Linked DNA regions of Homo sapiens: regions 1 and 2 are each linked to region 3. The links are contacts of gene promoters, found by promoter capture Hi-C in blood cells and fetal thymus (Javierre and others, 2016). All regions are on one chromosome and are shown on one strand. The core of a region is centred on a gene start or on the middle of the fragment in contact, and the rest is flanking DNA. Distances in the headings are between cores, read along the strand shown.

Region 1 (4,553 bases), core at 1,531-4,030, 530 kb before region 3:
GATAAGCTCCTGTCTGGTTCCATTATTTCTGTGAAGTGTGAGGCAAGGCCATCTGCTTAGAGAGAAGGATGCAAAGGGGACAAAGGAAGCTTGAGGAGGAAGAAGGATGAAAAATCACCATTTAAGAGTGTGAGCAGGGGGCTACAGTGGAGTAATACAGTAGAATTGCTAGGCAGGCTTGAGGGCTCGTTTGAAATTTGTGGACCTCACCTTAAAGGAAGAGCAATCACTTTCAACTTTCCAGCAATGTTCAGATGGTTTTGTTGTTGTTGTTGTTTTGTTTTTTGAGACGGAGTTTCACTATGTCACCCCGGCTGGAGTGCAGTGGCGTGATATTGGCTCACTGCAACCTCTGCCTCCCGGGTTCAAGCGATTCTCCTGTCTCAGCTTCCTGAGTAGCTGAGATTACAGGCGCCCACCACCATGCCTGGATGATTTTGTATGTTTAGTAAAGATAGTGTTTCCCCATATTGGCCAGGCTGGTCTCAAACTCTTGGCCTCAAGTGATCTGCCCATCTCAGCCTCCCAAAGCGCTGGGATTACAGACATGAGCCACCTTGCCCAGCCAATGTTCAGATGTTCTGATGAAAAAAGGTGGAGGTAAAAGGGTTCTGGGCTTTTGTAAGGGAGTTAGTATCATACTCATTACTAAGCTGGGTCAGGTGGGATGTGAGCATGAAGGGGAAGGTAATTGTGAAAATCTGGCAGGGACAAAGGTTTGCAGGTCTTGATGAGGTTGAAGAAATAATGAGGTTGAGGAAATGCTTTTGTGGTGATACTATGGTAAGCGGGTTAGACTCAGATTTGAGATCTTTGTGACTGTGATTTCTTTTCTTTTTTGGAGACTGGGTCTCACTCTGTTGCCCAGGCTGGAGTGCAGTGGCACAAACACAGCTTACTGCAGCCTCAACCTCCTGGGCTCAAGAGGTTCTCCCACCTCAGCCTTCCAAGTAGCTGGGACCACAGGTACATGACACCATGCCTGGCTAATTAAAAAAAAAAATCTTTATAGAAATGGGGTCTTGCCATGTTGCCCATGCTGGTCTCAAAATCCTGGGCTTAGCCTCCCAAAGTGTTAGGATTATAGGTATGAGCCACCATGCCTGGCCAGTGTGATTGTGATTTCTGAGATAGTGCAGTTAAAGGCGAGAACAGGCCAGGGTAAGACCACAGGAGTGGGACCTGGAGAGAGGCAAAGGAAACTGATTGGTAGGGAAGAAATCAGGGAGAAGTCAGTAAGATTTCTGGTGGATTATGCTTATGGATGCTGAAGTCCTAAAGAAAGTGTAGAAGGGGAGATGGAGGTAAGTTCATGAAAGCTAAAAAAAAAAAAAAAAGGGTGTGGCAGGTGGAAAAATATCACAGTATGAACTTCAAGGGGGTTAGGGTCTTTAAAAGAGGATGAGACGAGAAACATTGCTAAAGATATTTATGGCCTGGATGTTGTGGCTCACACCTGATATCCCAACACTTTGGGAGGCCAAGGCAGGAGAATCACTTGGGCCCAGGAGTTCAAGATCAGTCTGACCAACATGGTGAGATCCCGTCCCTATTTAAATTATAAAGTTATTATTTATTTATTTATTTATTTATTTATTTATTTATTTATTTGGATACGAGGGTCTCACTCTGTTGTGCAGGTTGGAATGCAGTGGTGCAATCATGGCTCACTGCAGCCTTAATCTCCTGGGCTGAAGGAATCTTCCTGCCTCAGCCTCCTGTGTAGCTGGGACCAGTGGCATGTGCCACCATGCCTAATTATTTGACTTTTTTATAGAGACGGGGTCTCACTTTGTCAGTGAGGTCTCGAACTCCTGGGTTTAAGCAATACTCCCACCTAGGCTTCCAAAGTGCTGGGATTACAGGCGTGAGCTACCATGCTTGGCCAAAAAATTTTAAAATAAACAAAATTTATAGTGCCTGCATACCAATTCACAACCCCTTGTAGATGACCATGTTTAATGCCATGTGTCTCCATGCTCATAGCAATAGCTGATGGATCTAGGGGCAGGATCTGAGCAGTGGGCAGCCAATCTGTGGAGTGACCTGTCCAGTGAATGAACTTTCCTTCAGGCTTGGCCTCCATCCCTTGGTATCCAAGAAGGACACCACCTTTTCTTGGTCCTGTTCCTGCCTCGCGGGTCATTCCTTCTCAGTCTTTCTGCTGGTTCCTCTTTATCTTCATGACCTCTTCTCTCTACATTCACCCACAAAGTGAGTTCACCAAGATGTCTGTGCTTTCAAGTATCTTTACATGCCATTTACTAGCTGACAGTTCTCATAAGTTTATCACAGCTCTAACTTCTTCCCCCAACTCCAAACTTCCATATCTAATTACTTATTTGATATCTCCATTTATTTATTTTTATTTTTATTTTTTGAGATGGAGTATCACTCTGTTACCCAGCCTGGAGTGCAGTGGTGCAATCTCTGCTCACTGCATCCTCCACCTCTGGGTTCAAGTGATTCTCCTGGCTCAGCCTCCTGAGTAGCTGGGATTACAGGCATGTGCCACCATGCCCACCTAATTTTGGTATTTTTAGTAGAGACAGGGTTTCACCATGTTGGCCAGGCTGGTTTTGAACTCCTGACCTCAGGTGATCCACTTGTCTCCCCAAAGTGCTAGAATTACAGGTGTGAGCCACCACGCCCACCTGACATCTCCATTTAAATCTCCAGTAGGAGGGGCCTGGCGCGGTGGCTCACGCCTGTAATCCCAGCACTTTGGGAGGCCGAGGTGGGCGGATCATGAGGTCAGGAGATCAAGACCATCTTGGCTAACATGGTGAAACCCCATCTCTACTAAAAATACAAAAAAAAATTAGCCAGGTGTAGTGGCGGGCACCTGTAGTCCCAGCTACTCGGGAGGCTGAGGCAGGAGAATGGCGTGAACCCGGGAGGCGGAGCTTGCAGTGAGCCGAGATTGTGCCACTGCACTCCAGCCTGGGCGACACAGCCAGACTCCGTCTCAAAAAAAATAAAATAAAATAAAAAATCTCCAGTAGGAGGCCAGGCATGGTGGCTCACATCTGTAATCCTAGAACTTTGGGAGGCCAAGGCGGGCAGATCATTTGAGGTCAGGAGTTCAAGACCAGCCTGGCCAACATGGTGAAATCCTGTCTCTGCTAAAAATTCAAAAATCAGCCAGGCGTGGTGGCGCACGCCTGCAGTCCCAGCTCCTTGGGAGGCTGAGGTGGGAGAATTGCTTGAATCCAGGAGACGGAGGCTGCAGTGAGCCGAGATCGCACCACTGCACTCCAGCCTGGGCGACAGAGTGAGACTCCATCTCAAAAACAAAAACAAAAAAATCTCCAATAGGCATCTCAAACATAACTTGCTCCCTCTTATCCACAACCCTCTCCTCAGAAAAACCCTGCTCCTCCTACAGTCTTCCCCAGATCAATAAATGGTAAATCCTTCCAGTGTTAAGCCAAAAACCTTAGCATCAGGCAAAACTATGGAGTAAAAAGATCAGTGGTTGCCAGGAGCTGGGGGAAAGGGGATGAAGAGGTGGAACACGGGGGATTTTTAGGGCAGTGAAAATATTCCGTATGATGGTTCTAACGGTGGCTAGATGTAATTATCCACTTCTCCAAGCCCATAGATTGTATAAGTGAACCCTAATGTAAACTATTGGGTGATCACGATGTATGAATGCAGGTTATTTGCAACAGATGTACCACACTAGTGGGGAATGGGGACAATTCAGGGAGGCTCTGCATATGTGGGGCAGGGGGGTATATATGGATTGTCTCTGTACCTTCCTCTCAATTTTCTTGTGAAACTAAAACTGCTCTAAAAAACAAAGTCTTGGCCGGGTGCAGTGGCTCATGCCTGTAATCCCAGCACTTTAGGAGGCTGAGGTGGGAGGATTGCTTAAGCCCAGGAGTTCGAGACCAGCCTGGGTAATACAGTGCGACTCAGTCTCTACAAAAAAATTAGCCTGGCACGGTGATGCACGCCTGTAGTCCCAGCTACTCAGGGCGGGGGTGGGGAGGGGCTGAGGTGGGAGGATCACTTGAGTCCGGGGGTGTTGAGGCTGCAGTGAGCTATGATTGCGCCACTGCACTCCAGTCTGGGCAACAGAACTGAGACACTGTCTCAAAACAAAAAACAACAGAAGACAAAGTCTTTAAATATGAAAAAAAAAATCTTAGCATCATCCTTGATTCCTTTCTTCTCATGCCTACCACCAATACATCAGGAAATACCTAGAATACTATCTACTTCTTGCCATCTCCAATGCTACTACCCTGGTCTAAGCCAGCTTCATCTCTCTGCTGTGTGACCTTGGGCAAGCTCCTTACCTTTTCAGGCTTCTGTCATGAGGATTAAATGGCTTATTATCTGTAAGGTGCTTAACAGTGTTCATCACATAGGATGTGCCATATCAGTGCTTTTTAAATAAATAAATGTCCTCAATATAGAAATGGCTTTCTAAGGCCCTAGTCCCCCTACAGTCCATTCAGAACACAGCAGCCTCATGATCCTTTTAAAGCCTAGGTCAAATCTTGTCATTGCCCTGTCCTTCAGCTCCTGCTCGACCTAGGCTA
Region 2 (4,489 bases), core at 1,447-3,946, 640 kb before region 3:
ATCACTCATTTTAACTTATACCTGAGATCGTACATCACCTTGCCTCATTTAATTACTCCACATGTATATGCTGCACCCCTATCAACGTTCTACGCATGAGAGACAGAGTGACACTATTCACTGCCTCACGTGGTCTTCAGTAGCACAATAATATTAATATCAACAACTATTGGCTGGGTGCAGTGGCTCAAGCTTGTAATGCCAGCACTTTGGGAGGCTGAGGATGATGGATCACTTAAGCCCAGAAGTTTGAGACCGGCCTGAGGAATATGGCAAAACACCGTCTCTACCAAAAAATACAAAAATAGTTGAGCATGGTGGCACACACCTATAGTCCCAGCTACTCAGGAGGCTGAGGTGGGAGGATCACTTGAGCCCAAGGAGACAGAAGTTGCAGTGAGCCGAGATCCCACCACTACACTCCAGCCTGGGTGACAGAGCGAGACCCTATTTCAAAAAATAAAAAACAACTACTATGAGTGTGGCGCATTGGCTCATGCCTGTAATCCTGGCATTTTGGGAGGCTGAGGCAGGAGGATCGCTTGAGCCCAGGAGTTAAAAGACCAACCTGGGCAACATAGGGAGACCCTGCCTGTATAAAAAAAATAAGTTAATTAAAAATAAATATAAATAAAATACATTAAAAAATTTTAAAAGCCAGTTATTATGACTACCATTACTGTATACATAAAGCACCAGGCACTGTGCTAAGTAGCTTATGTATTTTTCTGTCCTTTACTTTTTTTAATACTTTCAGGTAAATCTCTTTTGATCACCATTTCGTAGTTGAGAAAGAGACTTTACCCAAAGCTACAAAATTAGTAAGGATGGGCGAGAAGAGTGAGAGTGGATGATTCGAACTCAGCTCTGTCTACCTCCAAAGCCCCTTCTTCTTCTTCTCCTTTTTTTTTTTTTTAAGGGAAGGGTCTCACTTTGTTTCCCAGGCTGGTCTCCAACTCCTGATCTCAGGCGATCCTCCCGCCTCGGCCTCCCAAAGTGCTGGGATTACAGGCCTGAGCCACTTCGCCCAGCTCAAAGCCCTTTCTTAACTATATGACATTGCCTAGTAACTACTTTGGTCATTTCATAGCTAGGTGTTAAGTCTTCTCTCTGAACTGCAAGCTGTTAACAGTAACAAAACAAAAGTGACTGTTTAGTCGCTTCCAAAATAACCCATTCCTAAGTGATCCATATTCAAGCCTTTAAACAAACTAACTCATTTAATCCTCCCAACGACTCCATGAGATAGTAATAATTATTACTGCCGATTTCCAAATAGGAATCAGGCACAGAAAAGTTAAATAACTTGCCCCAAATCACTTGACTGTAAGTGCTGAATTCAGAGGTGAAATGGTAACTTATAAACTGTTTCATTTATTGACTCACTCTCAACAATTTTTATTAAGCACTCTTTTAGGGGCTGGGGATGGGGCAGTGACTAAACCAGAAAACATCCCTGCTCTCATGGAGCTTACAATCTTATTCCTCAATGTTTTCATTCAAAGACACAATCCTAAATCCTCTTAAATACCCTAAGATTACCACACAAAAATATCACATTTGGGTAACAAAAATTAGCATCGAAGAAGGAACATGGGACTTGACCCCAGAAAAGCTGGGTAAAATCCCTAATTTTGCCATTTGTTAGCTGTGACCGTGGGCAAATTCCTTCACCTGACTCTCCATTTCACGGCCTGTAAAAAGATTATTTCGCACAATGAAGACAATATACGCTCAATAAACGAGTTTCCTTTCTCCTCCCCACCATACAGTGACTTCATAATTTGTGCCGTCACTGAGCACGTGTTAAAGGACTACGCAGAAAAACTTAACGTGAACAACTTCTTACTTTCCAGCGCAATTCTCATTCCAGATCATCACCCCTCTAAGTTCAGGCCCCAGACTACTCTGATTCAAATAAATCAGGTGGCAAGTCGGGAATGACAGCAACTCGCATCAGGGCCTGGCGGTGTCTATGAAATGCTCCAGGTGACCTTCTCCAGAAGGCACTTTGGTTTCCGCCGGGGAGCAGCGTGGCCTCCTGAGCCGGTTCCCCGCCGCGTGCCGGGGAATGCACCACCCGGGAGGAGAACCCCGCGGCTCCGGCACGAGGGTGTGCCCCGACACTGTCTTCCACTCAAGAGCTCTGCGACTCTCCTGCCACCTGCCAACCCCGACCACCTCCTCCGGGCTGCAACTCCACCCCGCACCCGGGCTGCTGCTCCGGCTCCTCGGGTCTGTGCCCGCCGCCCGAGTGACCTCCCGCCGGGGCCCGGGCGGCTCGCCCTGGCCGGAGGGGCCGGAAAAGGCCGAGAGGCCTGACCTCCCGTGGGGCTTCCCTTCCTTCCTCCTGGGCAGCGCAGCCTGGAGCCAGCAGCTCTGCACCGGCCGGGCCTGCTGGGGCGAAAAGCCCCTTACCTATCTTCACGACCGCATCCGCCAGACACCGGTCCCACTTCCTGCCGAGCTCCGACTCAGACATGTTCCCCACCCGCGCCTCCAGCTTTCCTCTCGGCCGGCCCCCGCGCTCCGACCCCTGAAAGTCTCGCGAGAGCTGGAAACAAGTCCCAGGTCAGGAAGGCAGGCGCAGACGCTCCAGATATCGCGAGATGATCCGCTGCTTCCATCCCTTCCGGTTTTTTCAGTTGGTCGTCAAGGTGACGAGTTGTCTGGAGGCTCGAGGTGACCCTGACCTTGGGGCTGCGCCTATGGGTTTGCGAGGCTGACAGTTTCCTAGGCGTCACCCCAAGCCGTGACCAGGCCTTTCCTCCTCACCAAAGTGCGACATTGGCCCTGGAAATCCCCCGGGCAAGAGAGGGTACAGACTTGATTTATTCATTCATTAACGTACTCACCTTCACTTTCCCTACTCACTCTCTCATTCGTTCACTGGTTTCTTGCATTGGAATTCCCGCCTGAACCACTAACACCGAAACTGCTCTGGGAAAGATTACCTACCGCCAAATCAAATGGACTCTTTTCTGACCTCTGTACCGCATTCCACACAATTTTCCCTCCCTCTGATCCTCCCTGGCTCCTCTATTCGTTTCACTCCCGGTAACGCCACTCTTTCCTCTTCTCCCCATCTGCTGTTGTCTGTTGGTTTCCTCCAGGGCTGCCTTTTCTCTGCCAGCTGTTTAAGGACTGTTGGTTCGCAAGCTTCCATCAATTCTCTTTTCACTGTACAGACTCTCCCTGAGTAATTGCAAACACTGCCAAATTATATCTCCAGGTAAAACGTCTACCTCAGGCCTCCTATCCATGTATATATTTACACACCCACCCACACACACACACACATACACATACATACACAGGGTGCCCTCTGTATCTGTGGGTTTTGCATCCATGGATTTAACCAACCATGGACCAGAAACATTTTTGAATCAAATAAAAAATAATGCAAAATTTAAAATACAGTACAACTATTTACCTAGGATTTACATTGTATTAGGTATTATAAGTAACCTAGAGATGATTTAAAGTATATGGGAGCCAGCGCAGTGGCATGCGACCGTAGTCCCAGCTACTTGGGAGGCTGAGATGGGAGGATTGCTTGAGACTAGGAGTTCGACTTCATCTCTTTAAAAAAAAATAAGTAATTTTAAAAAAGGATATGTAAGCATGTGTGTAGGTTGTATGCAAATACCACGCCATTTTATATATGGGACTTGAGCATCCTGCATTTTGGTAACTGCGAGATCCTGAAACCAAATGCCCACAGCTATCAAGAGAGATTGTATATCCAGCCTACTGGCTAGTGTCATTGATTTTAGTCTTCCATCCTACCAACAAATAGAAATCTGACCACGTTATGCCTCTGATTAGAAGCTGTCAATGAAGGCCGAGAGCAGTGGCTCACACCTGTAATCCCAACACTCTGGGAGGCTGAGGCGGGAGGATTGTTTGAGGCCAGTAGTTCAAGACCAGCCTAGGCAGCATAGTGAGACTCCTGTCTCTACAAAAAATTTAAAAAATTAGCCAGGCTAATGTGATGTGTGCCTTTAGTCCCAGCTACTTAGGAGGCTGAGGTAGGAGGATCACTTGAGCCTGGGAAGTGGAGGCTACACTGAGCCATGTTCATGCCACTGCACTCCAGCCTGGGCATCAGAGTGATACCCTATCACAAAAGAAAAAAAAAAAAAGCTGTCAATGACTCCCATTCATACACTGGATCTATCCAAGCTTCAACACTGCACTGATTCTAGGAAGCCTAGTCAGATAGAGCTTAGAGCTGCCTTCCCCTTCTCATTGTCCCACTACCCTGCCTACCCGCATTGATTTCTCTATCTAGTACTGAAACATCTGGTTGTAGATATTATCTGCTAGTAGAACTAGAAGTTGCCCCTTCGTCTTCATACTTCCAGTCAGAGCACAATGCCTTGGATAGTAGGGTCTTCTATGAAATATTTGTTGAACTGAATTGAATTTATTCACCTATTTATTTGTTTATTTATTTATTGAGAGAGAGTCGCGCTCTGTTGCCCAG
Region 3 (4,684 bases), core at 1,020-3,519:
GATGATATCTTGAGATGTTTACAATAACTGTAGTGTGTTACATAAATACCTGTGATTTCTACTAGTGACAAAATCACAGGGACATCTACTTGCTGCCTACATTCATAATCAAAGGATATGTTAAAAACCATTGGCTGGGCACGGTGGCTTACGTCTGTAATCCCAGAACTTCGGGAGGTCAAGGTGGGCGGATCACCTGAGGTTGGGGGTTCAAGACCAGCCTGACCAACATAGAGAAACCCCCATCTCTACTAAGAATACAAAAAAATTAGCCGGGTGTGGTGGCGCATGCCTGTAATCCCAGCTACTTGGGAGGCTGAGGCAGGATAATCTCTTGAACCCCGGAGGTGGAGGTTGTGATGAGCCAAGATCGCACCATTGCACTCTAGCCTGGGCAACAAGAGTGAAACTCTGTTTCAAACAAACAAATAAACAAACAGACAACAAAGCCTTTAGAGATTAGTGAGGCTAAAGGTATAACTTTTGTCCACCCCTGTGTCATGGACCCCCCAGAATTCTATCCTCAGTCCTCTTGGGGGTCCATGAACCTCTGCTTCAAGGCAAAGGGGTTTTGATTCCTTAGGTTAGATAAACAAGAACATCATCAAGAGACGAGAGAACGAAGAGTAAAGGGCAGTGTCCAGACTGGGTTGGGTTAAGCAGAGAAAGGTTTCTAGATGAGTGAGTTTCAGAGCTGGGTGTTTAAGGTGAGTCCGTGTTGGCAGGAAGCAAGGAACTGTGGTTGAGGGAAGGAACTATGGGGAAGGTTTGCTTTTGTGGCTAAATCAAAAACACAGCAGACTAACATCACAGCCACATCACTCCAGGGCAAGCCCGTGTCTCCTTTGTCACCAAGAACACCAAGGCATTGTCCATGTAAGACAGTGTGCCTGTCCTCAAGCTTACATACAAAGAGACAAAACAAACACAAAAGTTAATAACAAGACAAAAATTAAACTGCTAGTAAAAAATGCAGTCGGAAGTATCTGAAACATGCCACATATCTGGTTAAGTGCATACAATGCAAGCCACAGGCGTTCAAAGGTGGGGGTTCAAGGTGGGGGTCACCTCCCCTCTGAGGTTTGCGGTGAGGACCAAATGCGGAAATGGACACGAGGCCCGAGGCCAGCATTGTGGAAGGCCGGTTAGAGCATGCACTTTGGACCATTGTGGCTACTTAACGTCTCAGTGACCTTCTCTGTAAAATGGGGATAATAAATAAGTATGGCGCCTGACATATACTAATGTTTGCAACACGGTTCAGGAGACACCAGAGACTGGAGAACTTGGCCTTTAACGTGGTAGGTGTGAAAACATTTGAATGAATGAATGAATGAATGAATGGGTCCTCGGGTTGCCTCGGTCTGCCCCAGGCGGCCCGCTAAGCCCCATGTCTGTGAAATGAATCCCCAGCTCTCGGGGTCAGCTTCATCTCAGCGTGTGGGTGTGGGTGGTGGGGAGGTGCTGAGCAGCTCAGCAGAGGCGAGGCCCAGGCCGAGTTTGTGGGTGTCATCCCGGGAGGGTCTTGCTCGGCCTCCCCAACCCCCATGCTGCTCGGCTCCTCAGTGGGCGGGGGAACCAGCGGGCTTAGCTGTGCCCGGGCCGATCTCGAGAGGACAAGGCCCGCAGCTAGCATTCGAGGAGCCCACCCCCGGGTCCGCAGCGTGGGGCACGGGCGCCCTCTTATCCCCGAAAGGTCGATCTGGGCCTCCCCAGGCTAGAGTGGGGGTGGGGTGCCGATGCACCTTCGGATACTGTGGTCCCCCAGCCCTTCCAGCCGCGGTCGCGCACATCCGAAGGAATTTGGGGCCAGGGGCATTGCGGGCAGAGAGGACAGAGAAACGGAGCCCTCTCGGCAGGCGACGTGGGAGAGGAGCGCCCTAAAAAGTGGAAAGCGAGCGTTGCCGAGGCTGCTGGCCCCTTTAAGAGGCCCGGCTGGCTCTGCGGCGGTTCCAGCTAACCCGGTCCCTGGTGCAGCTCTGCGGTCCGGGTCCCCCAGCAGAGAATCGGCACCCGGCGGGGAGGCAGGACCAGACGCAGGAGAGGGCGTGGCCCCGCCGGGGAGCTGGGCGGAGTCTATGCTGCGGAGAAAGCGGGAGAACCCGGAGGTGGGCGGAGCCGAGGGTCTGTGGGTGGGGCCCGGCGCTGCGGGCCTCGTGGGGCGGAGCCTCGGGCTCGGGGAACGCCGCAGAGGGAGGAGGGGTGGGCGGGGCCGCGGCGGGGGCGGGGCCAGTGTCTGCAGTGGGCGGGGCCCGCCGCAGAAGGGGCAGTGCCGGCCGAGAGTCCTCTGCGTGCGGCTGCCGCGGCCCCTCCACAGCGTCTCTGACAGCCCGGGCGGTGAGACCCGCGACCCTTCTGGCCCCGCGCAGATACCGCGGCCTCCACCGCGTCCCGAGGAGCGGCCGAGTGCCCTCTCTCGCCTCGGCGCCCGCATCCGGGGCCATCCGTCCTGCCGTCTCTGCGGAGGCCGCATCTGGCGCGCATCTGGAACCGCCCGGCCGGCCGCGCTGGAGCCCGCGCCCACCCTGGCCCGGCCGCGCCGGGAGCCCTGCCCGGAGCTGGAGCCGCACCTGGAGCCGCGGGCCCGGGGCCCTGAGCCGCGCAGCCGGCGCATGGTGAACTCGCTGCTGTTCGGGGAGATGGCCTTGGCCTTCGGCTGCCCGCCGGGCGGCGGCGGCGGGGGCTGCCCTGGCGGGGGCGGCGGCGGCGGCGGGGCAGGGCCGGGTCCGTCGCCGGTGACGGCGGCGCTGCGGGACGACCTGGGCTCCAACATCCACCTCTTGAAGGGGCTCAACGTGCGCTTCCGCTGCTTCCTGGCTAAGGTGCACGAGCTGGAGCGGCGCAACCGGCTGCTGGAGAAGCAGCTGGAGCAGCAGCAGAGCGAGCGCGAGCGGCGGCTGCGCTACAAGACCTTCTCCCGCGAGCAGGCCGTGCAGACCGGGCCCGAGTTGCTGCGGCCCCCGGCGCCCGGCGGCGGGCACGGCCTCAGCAGTGGCGCGGCGGCCGGCGCCAACGCCAATGCCGTGGCCCTGGGCGGCCTGCCCCCCGGCGGCGGCTCGCACCCGCAGCACTACGGCCGCCTGCCCGGGACCATCTGGAGCTACACGCAGGTGCGGCGCACGGGCGGCGGCGGCGTGGAGACCGTGCAGGGCCCCGGCGTGTCGTGGGTGCACCCCGACGGCGTGGGCGTGCAGATCGACACCATCACGCCGGAGATCCGCGCGCTCTACAACGTGCTGGCCAAGGTGAAGCGCGAGCGCGACGAGTATAAGCGGAGGTGAGTGGCCGCCCCTCCCCCGCCGCCCTGGGACGGGGCGCCCAGGTCCAGGCTGCCGCGGAATGCGTATGCGGGACGGGGGCCGGGCGGGCAGCTGGTACTGGCAGGTGGGCTGGAAGCTGTGTTTGCAGAGCGTCTTACGTACGCCAGGAAGGCCCAGTTATCTAGATCCCAGGATGGGGGCGGGCGCTGGCTACCGTGGGGGCCACCTCGATGCTGTCACTGGTGAGGCACATTGTTTTCTAGGTGACATAATAACTGTCTGTGTTTTATGCGATCTCATTTAATTCTCAGCACAATACAGCGTATTGTGTAAGGCAGTCTTATCCTCATCTCGCAGATGAGGAAACCGAGGTGCAGAAATGCTAAGTGATTTGCCTAAGGTGGCTTGGCGAGTAAGTGGTGAAACCGGGATTTCAACCAGAGATTTTAACCACTCCTGGCTAGTCTGTCTCCTAGCATAAGTATTTTTACCAAGGAAGTAGGAAATATGCTCCCCTCCCTCAACATATGAAAAGAAAAACTCTAACCAACCCACTGCCTTTTTATTTCTTGAATTAAATGAGATCACGTTTTTGAAAATGGATGGATCTGCCCCTACCCCCTGGGGCCAGTGTCTGCCGTCTTGCTCCAGCTCTGTAAGGTCCAGCTTGCTGGGTTGGATAACCACAACTACAACAGACTGCTCACAAGCTTTTATAAAATGCCTCCTTTCATCCCTCTTCTCCCCACTCCCTGAGTCTCATGGTTTATTGAGCCCTAACAAACTCAGCCTTAAAAGCCCCCAGGAGAAGATAATGTTGGGCTGGAGACTGGACATTGAATGGACTGAGACCACAATCTCTGGCTAGAACTGGGGTCCAGACTCTGCAAGACTGGCCAGTGCATTCCTGCCTAGCCCAGATTCCCCAGCTGGGAAACTGTCATTGCTTCCTGTCTGCAGTCTGGCCGACAATACTGTCTGCTTGGCTTTCCGATAAGAGGAGAGGGGTCTCCTATCCTCCTCCTCTTCCCATAAGAGAAGAAGGGTCTGTCTTTGGCATCTCAGGCCTGGCTGGGGAAGGGGCCCTCTGGCCCTGGCAATCGCTGTTCCAGGCACAGGCAGCCTTCCATTCGGAGCTATTGGCTCTGAACTCCAGGGCTTGGAGGATGTACTGAGAAGGACCCTTCCTTCCATCTCTAAAGGTCTGTCCAGGGAGCTGGGCATAGGTCTCCTTCCGTATTCTCCCATTGGACAGGCTAGCAACTGGGTAGGATTCAAATGCCAGCCTTATACCTGCTGGTGAGATTATCAAATCACTTGAAAGCCTGTTTGCTCATCAGAGAAATGGGAATAATAAAATCTGCCCACAGTTGCTCGAGGAGACAGCAGGATGGTGATGCTCTTTGGGAGGTATAAAGTAATCA

Evidence for each region. The method cuts DNA at HindIII sites, captures the fragments that hold promoters and counts their contacts. A CHiCAGO score of 5 or more calls a contact.
Region 1: a fragment that was not itself captured here is called in contact with the fragment with the promoter of IFFO2 in region 3 in 1 of 17 cell types (fetal thymus); the score reaches 6.0 in fetal thymus.
Region 2: a contact is called between the fragment with the promoter of MICOS10-DT here and the fragment with the promoter of IFFO2 in region 3, in 3 of 17 cell types (total CD8 T cells, total CD4 T cells and fetal thymus). The highest score is 7.0, in total CD8 T cells.

The regions. Positions count from the first base shown.
Region 1 is chr1:19,487,822-19,492,374 of GRCh38, reverse strand. It overlaps a transcript of LOC105376819 not described here. Among named protein-coding and RNA genes, the nearest start is that of CAPZB, 4.6 kb to the right of the region's middle. RefSeq lists an enhancer at 4,493-4,553. The HindIII fragment of the contact is 5,377 bases long and covers 92-4,553 here.
Region 2 is chr1:19,595,039-19,599,527 of GRCh38, reverse strand. MICOS10-DT (MICOS10 divergent transcript) reads left to right here and starts at 2,696. Exons shown (of 2, transcript NR_135054.1): 1 at 2,696-2,818. It overlaps MICOS10-NBL1 (MICOS10-NBL1 readthrough), which reads right to left and starts at 2,549. Exons shown (of 4, transcript NM_001204089.2): 1 at 2,419-2,549. MICOS10 (mitochondrial contact site and cristae organizing system subunit 10) reads right to left here and starts at 2,549. Exons shown (of 4, transcript NM_001032363.4): 1 at 2,419-2,549. The coding sequence starts at 2,482. RefSeq lists a silencer at 2,127-2,336 and an enhancer at 2,457-2,756. The HindIII fragment of the contact is 2,967 bases long and covers 195-3,161 here.
Region 3 is chr1:18,954,261-18,958,944 of GRCh38, reverse strand. IFFO2 (intermediate filament family orphan 2) reads left to right here and starts at 2,269. Exons shown (of 9, transcript NM_001136265.2): 1 at 2,269-3,277. The coding sequence starts at 2,613. RefSeq lists silencers at 2,087-2,256, 2,827-3,086, 3,327-3,516. The HindIII fragment of the contact is 3,069 bases long and covers 904-3,972 here.